Regions from separate parts of the Homo sapiens genome. Here region 2 is linked to region 1. The links are contacts of gene promoters, found by promoter capture Hi-C in human tissues and cell types (Jung and others, 2019). All regions are on one chromosome and are shown on one strand. Each heading gives the region's core, a stretch centred on a gene start or on the middle of the fragment in contact. The rest is flanking DNA. Distances are from core to core; before and after follow the strand shown.

What was found. Contacts are between HindIII fragments. The study calls those that stand out against the background at their distance.
Region 2: a contact is called between a fragment that was not itself captured here and the fragment with the promoter of UAP1 in region 1, in 1 of the 25 tissues and cell types used here (aorta).

The regions. Positions count from the first base shown.
Region 1 is chr1:162,559,785-162,565,144 of GRCh38, reverse strand. UAP1 (UDP-N-acetylglucosamine pyrophosphorylase 1) reads right to left here and starts at 3,423. Exons shown (of 11, transcript NM_001324116.5): 1 at 3,368-3,423. It overlaps UAP1-DT (UAP1 divergent transcript), which reads left to right and starts at 3,792. Exons shown (of 3, transcript XR_426859.4): 1 at 3,792-3,907; 2 at 4,493-4,670. RefSeq lists a silencer at 2,935-3,834. The HindIII fragment of the contact is 20,893 bases long and covers 706-5,360 here.
Region 2 is chr1:162,734,861-162,740,397 of GRCh38, reverse strand. All of the region lies in intron 3 of DDR2 (discoidin domain receptor tyrosine kinase 2), which reads right to left. Among named protein-coding and RNA genes, the nearest start is that of HSD17B7, 53 kb to the left of the region's middle. The HindIII fragment of the contact is 7,364 bases long and covers 1-5,537 here.

The sequences.
Region 1 (5,360 bases), core at 2,174-4,673:
GCCAGGCATGGTAGCTCACACCTGTAATCCCAGCACAGGCCTGGGCTCAGGAGTTCAAGACCAACCTGGGCAACATGGCAAAACCCCACCCCTACAAAAAACACAAAAATTAGCCAGATGTGGTAACATATGCCTGTAGTCCCAGCTACTTGGAAGGCTGAGGTGGGAGGAACACCTGAATTCGGAAGGTCGAGGCTACAATGAGGCGTAATCATGTCACTCCAGCCTCAGCAACAGGAAATTCTATCTCAAAAAAATAAAAGATTAGGAAACAAGCAGAGCCTGGTGGCCATGATGAGCAAGCACGTGTGGGATGGAAAGCAGTAAGAAGGTTAACGTATGACAAATGATATAAAATGGCCTGGGGTAGGGCTAGATCATGAAAAGCCTGAAAACTAACCAAAAGAATTTAGACTTCAGAGAATAAGTAATAGAAAGCGAACAGTAGATTCTCAAACAGGGCAGTGTTACCATGCTTTAAAGAGATGAGAGAAAGGAGCAATGGATACAATAGATTGTAAGGAGGGACAACTAGAAGCAGGAAAAGAAGTTAAAAGACAACTGCAGGTATGAAATACCAAAGGTCTGAACCAGATTAGTGGCAGAGAAAATGAGAGTGAAAGGAATAAATTTGAGGGTCACTGTAAAGAATCATCACTGCATTATAATTGCTTCGATGTGAGAGACAGAGGTTAAAAGTAGGTTCTAAAGACACTTATCTTCTCTTCCTATAAGAACAGTGAAAAGTAATACACATGGTAGTTCAGAGCACAATTCTAGGCTAAGCTGAGCCACTTAATTTCCCCATGCCTCGGTTACCTTATCTGTAAAATGAGATTAATAATAGTATCTACCTCACCAGGATCATTAAACATCAAACTCCATTTACAAGCTCAGGTCTAGAGAACCTACATCTGTGTGTTCCCTGAGGTGGTAATAACAACACTCAGCTTTCAATGTTCATTATGGTATTAAAAGGCATTCCTATTGATTTATATAGGTTTCAAGAGTCATGATGCTATTATTTTTTAATTTTAAAAAATCACATTAAAAAAGACACTTGAGAGGAACAGATTTATATTAAATTATTTTCCAAGGAATGTAGTCTTTCCCAAGACCTTATTTATGCTGCTGCTTTGCCTCTGATTTAAGGGAGTACATTGTAGTAGGAAGATCAGCAAGGAACCAGATAACCAAAGAATAGGAAGTCCCTGTTCTTGGTCCTTCTCTATCATTTGATTCTATGCAATCATTTTACCTCCCTGTGCATAGATTTCCTCATGAATATAAGACAACCAACCTTTCTCACATGCCTTCAAGATAGTCAAGAGTAAAGAGTGCTCTGTCTGATAAAAGGCATACACAAACATATTACTATAACATTTTAAGATATAAACCAAACTTTTCCTAAAAGATCATTAGATACTCCTCCACCTTCAGACACTTGGGAAAATGAATCCATGCAAATAAGATACCTCATAGGGCCGGGCGCGGTGGCTCACGCCTGTAATTCCAGTACTTTGGGAGGCCGAGGCGGGCGGATCATGAGGTCAAGAGATGGAGACCATTCTGGCCAACATGGTGAAACCCCATCTCCACTAAAAATACAAAAATTAGCTGGGCATGGTGGCACGCGCCTGTAGTCCCAGCTACTCAGGAGGCTGAGGCAGGAGAATCGCCTGAACCGGGGAGGCGGAGGTTGTAGTAAGCCGACATCACGCCACTGAACTCCAGCCTGGCGACAGAGTGAGACTCTCCGTCTCAAAAAATAAAAATAAAAAAAAAAAGGGTACCTCATAGGTTAAACTTTGATATCTGGGCGTAAACCACTGGTAACATGTGTTCATCTACATGTTGTATAATGTTCATAATGTAACGACCATACTTGAGTTTTGGACAAGCACAATTCATCTATTATATTTATTTGAGGCAGATATAAGCACCTTCATGCCACAAAAATAGTAGCATGTTTCCCATTAACGATGTTTAGAGGCACGTGTAATGGTAAGCAGCAATTAACAGAAGAGTTAAAAGATATGGATTTTTATTTTGACAACCGAAATCTGAAAAAGTTGAAAATCTGCTCGAGAAATTATGACAAAACTTGGTACATGCCCACAGCCTAATCCATCTGCATCAAAATATATGAAAAATTTGGTAATAATCTACCATTATCAAATATATTTTTATTAGAATTTAAATACCAGTATTAAAGAAATCCAGTATTTCTCCCTCCTTTTCTGGCTTCCCCCACCCAGCCCCTATCTCTGCTGGTATACGTATGCCCTCGAAATGAATAAGTAAACCTCTTAAAGCTTTTGAAAAACAGTATCAGAGTTGAGACATAACCACCAACTGAATCCTATAAATGCTTGGCAGCACAGCCTATGAAGTCTTTCTTTGCTCCAGCTAAGTGAGCCAACTGACTAACCGTGAAGGAATAGACAACTGCCTTGAGTTTCCGGCGAACTCTTGGATCCACACCCAGTGAATTTCACCTAAAAGTCCTTAAACTTTTGCAATACCAAATGACACACACATATGATCATAATCCTATTACCTGATTTCAGATTTCATAAACCATGTAGAAGTAAGTGTAGCACAGCGACAGGCCAAAGTTCAAGCAGCCATATGTTCAGCATACGTGTGCTCAGCCCTCCAATACCATCCTTCTGCTTGGCCAAGAGAGGGGAAACCCAGAAATTTCAATTCTCTCTCACTACCAGTATCATGGCAAACCAAACCAAAAAAAAGAAAGAAAAAAGTGGCAAGCAAACAGGTTTTGTCCCACTGTCCTGTCCTCCAAATGTATCCCCTGTCTTTGTCAGACCTCTCAAATCTTTTCCTCATATATTCAAGACACACCAACTCGCTTCCACCTGACAGTGCCAACGATCTCCTGTCCCACTACAGGCCCCCACACTTGGTATAACTGTCCACAAGGCCCTAGCCTGAGAGCCTCGAGGTCTCTACTGCCCACCCGGGAGAGGCCCCACTCCCAACCCCACACGCCTACACGACCCCCTCGGACTCAGACACTGGCCCAGACCTCCTCCCACAACGCCCCCAGTCCATCTGGGGCGCGCTCATTCCATCCCTGGCCCCGCCATCCACCCGGCTGCCCAGCCCACACACCCTCTCGCGGGGTGGCGGAGGATGGGGTGCGACTGCGGGGCGCACGGGCTGGGGTGTGTGTCTGCGGGCGAGCGGGAGGCTCCTCGGCGTGTGCTCGGCTGCCCGCGCTGTGCACGTTCGTGCGACGCGTGTCCACGTCTGAGCGCGTGGCCGTGTGTGCGGTGGGGCCAGGCCCTCCGCCCGCCCGGGTCCCGAGCCCCGCCGTCTCCTCGCTGGGCTGGGAGCCCCTCACCTTTCTCGGCGCGACCGCAGCTACGACCGTCTCCAGCTCCTTCCGCGCGGCCACTCATCGGCGTCCCGCGCTCGCTCCGAATATATACCCTCATCCGGGGGGCCGCGGCGGCGGGGCGGGCCGGGAGCGGGGGCCAAGTGGAGCGCCAGCCCCGGCCACCCCGCCCCTCTCGCCACGACTAGTGGCTGCCGACGCCTGAAGGAGTGGAAGCCGACCGCCCAGACACGTCAGCGCCGGGAGCACAGACGACGACGCGGACGCGGAGGCGGCCGCGGCCCGGGGCGCCGGGGCGGGGCTAGGGATGGGGGCCGGGCATGAAAGGAGTAACCCACCGGGCCGGGGCGGGGCCTAGTGCGTCACTCATTCTCTGGCCCAATGGGAATAGTTCTGGAGCGCAGTCGGCTGGCGTCCCGGTCCCTCCTGCGCACTAACTGAGGGTGAAGGATGTCGGTTGGGTCTGCTAGGAGGGGCCAGGAGCCGGCCGGCAGAGAGCGGCTCGTGGGTCCCAGGACCCCTGACGTCCCTAGGTTGTACTGGGAGGTGCGAGCCCGAGGCTCTTAGTCGGCCCAGCGGCACGGGGCACAAGCGGGCCACAGAGATGGGCAGGGAGCTGTGTCCCCAGGGTGGCGGATTTCCGAGCCACCCACGCGGGTGGTTGGGAAAGGGCGGTGGATTTTCCTGCGGAGAAACTTTCAGGGCGGGCCTGGCGCGCTCTCTGACCTTGGGCTAGTTATTTTGTGTGCAGTTCACAAGATGCCTGGCCGGGCTCCAAACTCGCTCTCTGTTTGGTTGTGTTTTGGCTCCCAAGAAGGCGAAGCCAGGCCTTTTTTCTTTTGCACAAACAGACAGGAAAGGAGAGAGGAAATGCAAGCAAAGGTAGTAGGTAACCTAAGGTAGTATAAGCCCGGGGTCATCTTTGTGAGTTTGCAGACTTAACGTCGCTAGGCCTCAGTACTCTGCAGAAAGATGGTGGAGGACCTAGATGACCTCCCAGGCCATTCCAGGACCAGTGTTTACAGTCCTGTTACATAACCTAGTGTGGGTGTGCACACACAGGTTATTATATGTTCAGCACTGTGCCCTTGGAAGCTATGTTTACATTTAAAGTTGTGTTGCATTTTGCAGCTTTTGCAAGAAGTGGAATATGTTGAAATACGAAAATACCTAGATTTAACATACCACCTATCATAAAGAGATTCAGGCGCCTTTCTTCTACTTTCTTGGGTGCAAAGGCCTTTTCATTCCCTTTACCAATTGCATAATCACCCACTGCCTCAAGTAACAACAGAAAAACTTAAACTTGGTAAGTAATGCTGGTAGATTTACATTCAGGAGATTGAATACTCTCCATCTCTCATGATCCTAGAACTTCCTTCGTTTCTTTGAAAGAAGAATAGTGTAGTGATTGGTTTATAGTGTAGTGATTGGTTTCTTAATCATGGGATCTGAAGACAATTTCAGCTTTATTGCTTGTGATCTTTGGCAAGCTACTTGTGCTATCAGTTTTCTCATCTATAAAAAACAGACAATAAAGATGAAAATGCCATTTGGTGGTTGTATTAAACCAATCGATATAAATGAAGTATGTAAAACAGTAAACACTAAATAACCTTTAGTTATTATTTATTATTGAGCACTTATTAATTCAAACTAGGAGACCCAGATTCAAAATCAGTCTACGCTTACTAACTGTGTGACTTTGGGTAAGTCATTTAACCACTCCAAACTCCAATGTCCTTTTATGAAATGAAGCTAATACCTATTTCACATGGGTATAGTAAAAAATGAGAAAGAACCTAAGATAATGTCTGGAATATTATAGGCATTCTATAAGTCATAGATGAATGACTGAGTAAAGAGCAAAATTATTAGTTAGCAATCCTTTAAAGAAAAAAGATAGAACTGAGGTCCAGCTCAATGTTTTTAATGAACTACTATAAAATCACATTTGTACTTTTACCCTTTTTTGCTGAAGTTTCATTTGTTTGTTATT
Region 2 (5,537 bases), core at 1,753-4,252, 180 kb before region 1:
AGTTTACCCAAAGTGAAAAAACTAGTTAAAGTTATTATGCTAGCATTCTCCTTTTCCAATGTAATGAACTTGTACTCAACAAAAGCAAGCATTTTGAGGGGAGGATAGGGCCAATTACAATGAATGCCTCCTTTCTCTGATTTCTCACATTTTAAATATCTTTCTTATACTATTAGATACATACTGCTTTGTAATGTACCACGTGTGAGTCCTATCTCCCCTGCAGGTGGCAAAATTTTGAGGGGAATAAAGCCACTGTATCTTATTCATTTTTATTTCTCAGTGCATATTGGGGAGAAAATAGGTATTTAAAAATATTTATTTAAAAAAAGAGGTAAACTTTAGAGATAGATGTAAATAAGGAATAAAGATAACATTGAGTAAAATACAGACTCCCTCCAAAGCTCATCCTTCAGTCTTTTTTTTTTTTTTCAGGTTCCATTCTTTCAACGACTCAAGCCAAAAATCTTGAGGCCATTCTTGACTCCTTCAATACCCTGTATTCAGTCCATCCACTGAGAGAAGATTCTACTGGCTACCCTAAAAATATTCCCATATCCCACCTACTTCTTCTCACATATTTTACTATCATAATAAGCTAATTCACTGTCTTCCATTGCCAGGAATAGTGCAATAATTTCCTAACTGATCTCCCTTTGTCCACCTTTTCCCATGTATCTTTTAGAATGTAAATCAAATCATGAAATTCTTCCGCTCACACTATTCACAATAGCAAAGACATTAAATCAGCCTAGGTGCCCATCAATAGTGGATTCGATAAAGAAAATGTGGGCCAGGCATGGTGGCTCACGCCTGTAATCCCAGCACTTTGGGCAGCCCAGGTGGGCGGATCACTTGAGGTCAGGAGTTTGAGACCAGACTGGCCAACATGGTAAAACCCTGTCTCCATCAAAAATACAAAAATTAGCCAGGCATGGTGGTGTGCCCATGTAATCCCAGTTACTCAGGAGGCTGAAGCAGGAAAATTGCTTGAATCTGGGAGGCGGAGGTGCAGTGATCACACCACTGCACTCCAGCCTGGGCGACAGAGAGAGACTCCATCTCAAAAAAAAAGAAACGAGAAGTGTCTGTTCATGTCCTTTGCCCACTTTTTGATGGGGTTGTTTGTTTTTTTCTTGTAAATTTGTTTGAGTTCATCGTAGATTCTGGATATTAGCCCTTTGTCAGATGAGTAGGTTGCGAAAATTTTCTCCCATGTTGTAGGTTGCCTGTTCACTCTGATGGTAGTTTCTTTTGCTGTGCAGAAGCTCTTTAGTTTAATTAGATCCCATTTGTCAATTTTGGCTTTTGTTGCCATTGCTTTTGGTGTTTTGGACATGAAGCCCTTGCCCACGCCTATGTCCTGAATGGTAATGCCTAGGTTTTCTTCTAGGGTTTTTATGGTTTTAGGTCTAACGTTTAAATCTTTAATCCATCTTGAATTGATTTTTGTATAAGGTGTAAGGAAGGGATCCAGTTTCAGCTTTCTACATATGGCTAGCCAGTTTTCCCAGCACCATTTATTAAATAGGGAATCCTTTCCCCATTGCTTGTTTTTCTCAGGTTTGTCAAAGATCAGATAGTTGTAGATATGCGGCATTATTTCTGAGGGCTCTGTTCTGTTCCATTGATCTATATCTCTGTTTTGGTACCAGTACCATGCTGTTTTGGTTACTGTAGCCTTGTAGTATAGTTTGAAGTCAGGTAGTGTGATGCCTCCAGCTTTGTTCTTTTGACTTAGGATTGACTTGGCGATGCGGGCTCTTTTTTGGTTCCATATGAACTTGAAAGTAGTTTTTTCCAATTCTGTGAAGAAAGTCATTGGTAGCTTGATGGGGATGGCATTGAATCTGTAAATTACCTTGGGCAGTATGGCCATTTTCACGATATTGATTCTTCCTACCCATGAGCATGGAATGTTCTTCCATTTGTTTGTGTCCTCTTTTATTTCCTTGAGCAGTGGTTTGTAGTTCTCCTTGAAGAGGTCCTTCACATCCCTTGTAAGTTGGATTCCTAGGTATTTTATTCTCTTTGAAGCAATTGTGAATGGGAGTTCACTCATGATTTGGCTCTCTGTTTGTCTGTTGTTGGTGTATAAGAATGCTTGTGATTTTTGTACATTGATTTTGTATCCTGAGACTTTGCTGAAGTTGCTTATCAGCTTAAGGAGATTTTGGGCTGAGACAATGGGGTTTTCTAGATAAACAATCATGTCGTCTGCAAACAGGGACAATTTGACTTCCTCTTTTCCTAATTGAATACCCTTTATTTCCTTCTCCTGCCTGATTGCCCTGGCCAGAACTTCCAACACAATGTTGAATAGGAGCGGTGAGAGAGGGCATCCCTGTCTTGTGCCAGTTTTCAAAGGGAATGCTTCCAGTTTTTGCCCATTCAGTATGATATTGGCTGTGGGTTTGTCATGAACGGACACTTCTCAAAAGAAGACATTTATGCAGCCAAAAAACACATGAAAAAATGCTCATTATCACTGGCCATCAGAGAAATGCAAATCAAAACCACTATGAGATATCATCTCACACCAGTTAGAATGGCAATCATTAAAAAGTCAGGAAACAACAGGTGCTGGAGAGGATGTGGAGAAATAGGAACACTTTTACACTGTTGGTGGGACTGTAAACTAGTTCAACCATTGTGGAAGTCAGTGTGGCGATTCCTCAGGGATCTAGAACTAGAAATACCATTTGACCCAGCCATCCCATTACTGGGTATATACCCAAATGACTATAAATCATGCTGCTATAAAGACACATGCACACGTATGTTTATTGCGGCATTATTCACAATAGCAAAGACTTGGAACCAACCCAAATGTCCAACAATGTTAGACTGGATTAAGAAAATGTGGCACATATACACCATGGAATACTATGCAGCCATAAAAAATGATGAGTTCATGTCCTTTGTAGGGACATGGATGAAATTGGAAAACATCATTCTCAGTAAACTATTGCAAGAACAAAAACCCAAACACCGCATATTCTCACTCATAGGTGGGAATTGAACAATGAGATCACATGGACACAGGAAGGGGAATATCACACTCTGGGGACTGTGGTGGGGTCGGGGGAGGGGGGAGGGATAGCATTGGGAGAGATACCTAATGCTAGATGACACGTTAGTGGGTGCAGCGCACCAGCATGGCACATGTATACATATGTAACTAACCTGCACAATGTGCACATGTACCCTAAAACTTAAAGTATAATAAAAAAAAAAATTATTCCAAAAAAAATAAATAAAAAATAAAACTGTAATAAAAAAAAAGAAACGAAAAAAAAGAAAGAAAGAAAAAGCAAAGGAGAAAAGAAAAGAAAATGTGGTACATATACAGCATGGAATACTATGTAGTCATAAAAGAAATGAAAGTCATATCATGAAACTCTTCTGTTCACACTATTCACAATAGTGAAGACATGGAATCAGACATCCCCTGGCTGTCTTGGACCTTGTCCTTACCCCACTTTCCCCATCAGCCACACTGGCCTCCTTGTTGTTCCTCAAACACACTAAGTATACTTCTCCTTCAGGAATTTTCATGTACTGTTAAGTGTCTAATTCAGTAAAGTAAGAATCTTCATAGAGTTGAGAAAAGAGAAGTGAAATACCACACTGCCCATTCTTTCACGTACTGACATCTCTGAAATCTGGATGCACTTCGCAAGCAAATAGTGTCATAGTTTAACTGGCAGTAGTTTTTCTTTCTTTCTTAGAGGCACATAAAGTAATGATGCATCTTAGAGTCGTGAGTTGCTTAAATTCAGTAAAATGCAGTAATGATGACATCCATTTAGAAGCATTTACCAAGTGTCAGGCAATATGATAAGCATTTTCCACCCAATATTTCATGTTTCCCACTAATCACACATTCTACAGGTAAGTTTTAACTGCAAAGGCCATTCCTTGAGTAAATACTAACTCATCTTAGAACTTGGCTCTAAAGCCTGTAATTCCACTGAGCACACAACCCTTGAAAATCAAGACTTCGCATCCACTCCCGGTTCTACCACTTATACCATGTGGGATCTGAGCAAGCTCCTGGCTCTCTTTCGGTCTGTTTCTTCATGTGGAAAGCAAGAGAGTTCTATTAGGCTTTCTGTAAGGCAGTGATTCCCAAAGCCAGTCCATGGACCAATAGCATTAGAAAAGCCTGGAGAGGTTTTAGAATACATGTTTGTGAGCCTCCTGTTAGAGATTTTGCTTTGGTATACCTGAAGCTGAGCCCAGTAACCTGCATATTTTTACAGTCCACCAGGTGACTGTGCTGTGTAGCCAGGCTCTGGAGCCACTGCTCCCAGGTCCCTTCAGCCTGGACGTGTAATGATTCTCTAGGACCATGCTGGGCACCAGAGAAAGCCACACTGACCGTCCCACTGGGCTTTCATCCCTGGCTTTAATGCATCTCTAAACACTAGGCCATGAATGCAATGAGAGCCTCTGCTTCTTGGAATATCTAAAGTAAAGCAGAAATAGGGAATGTGGGTCACATGAGGTGAATCATGATATTGTTGCAAATAACTTTCCTTCTAACGTACTGCTCATTCTGAGAATGGCAACTAAGGAGTTTTATCAGAGCTACTGCTGCTGCAGCTGCTTTTATGACACATTTCAGTTAAATTATATTTCCTAGGCATAGAAACCCTTTATATTTTGTGTCCTAACTGAACCCATTCAGGAATTTTCCTATATAACAGATGTGGAGGTAGATCCATATAGGATACTCTGCTATGTGGTGTCAAAGGAGTGCCAGTTTCCTTCCTGAAAGCTCTTTGATCTATGTATTGTGATTGCATTTCAGTTACCATTTAGAGCTGTGATCCTCAAAATATGCTTCCAGGACCAGCAGCATCAGCATCACCTGGAAACTCATTAGCAACGCTAATTATCAGTCTCCATTTGACCTAATGAATCAGAAACTCTGGTGGGGTTGCTGGGAGGGGGTAGCAAACAGTGTATTAACCACTACTCTAGATGACCCTAATGCAGACTCAAGCTTGAGAACTAGAGGAAGTAGGGGAGGACATGAGGCTTCATTTCATGTAAATAACTTGTTACACATGTCAGCGCTCCCCTCTTCCTCGACTCGTCCAGCTCTTCCAGCATACAGAGGGTTTAGGTCAACTGTGTGGTGGACAGCAGAGTGGCAATGACATTGATGAAAACTGGAAAGGCTCTCCCTGAGTCAACCTCTGCCTGGAGACCAAAATAGAATTCTTGGAGAGGAAGAGTCCAGGAATGATAGGTAAGATGTTACTCTCAACAGGCGGCAGTCAAGGAATGAGAAGTAAGCTTGGCCTTTGAGAACCATCCAGTCCATTAGCAAGTTCTACAAATCCTACCTCCTGCAGTTGAGTCCAGCTGTTTCTCTCCTCTATTCTTCCCATGCAGTGCGCAACCTCCATGACCTCCCATCTGAGCCACTATAATGCCTTCTAGCTCTTCTTCGTTGTTCCTCTATCATCCCTTCTCCACACAATAGCCCAAATTAGCTTCCTAAAACTTTATTCTGTCATGAACCT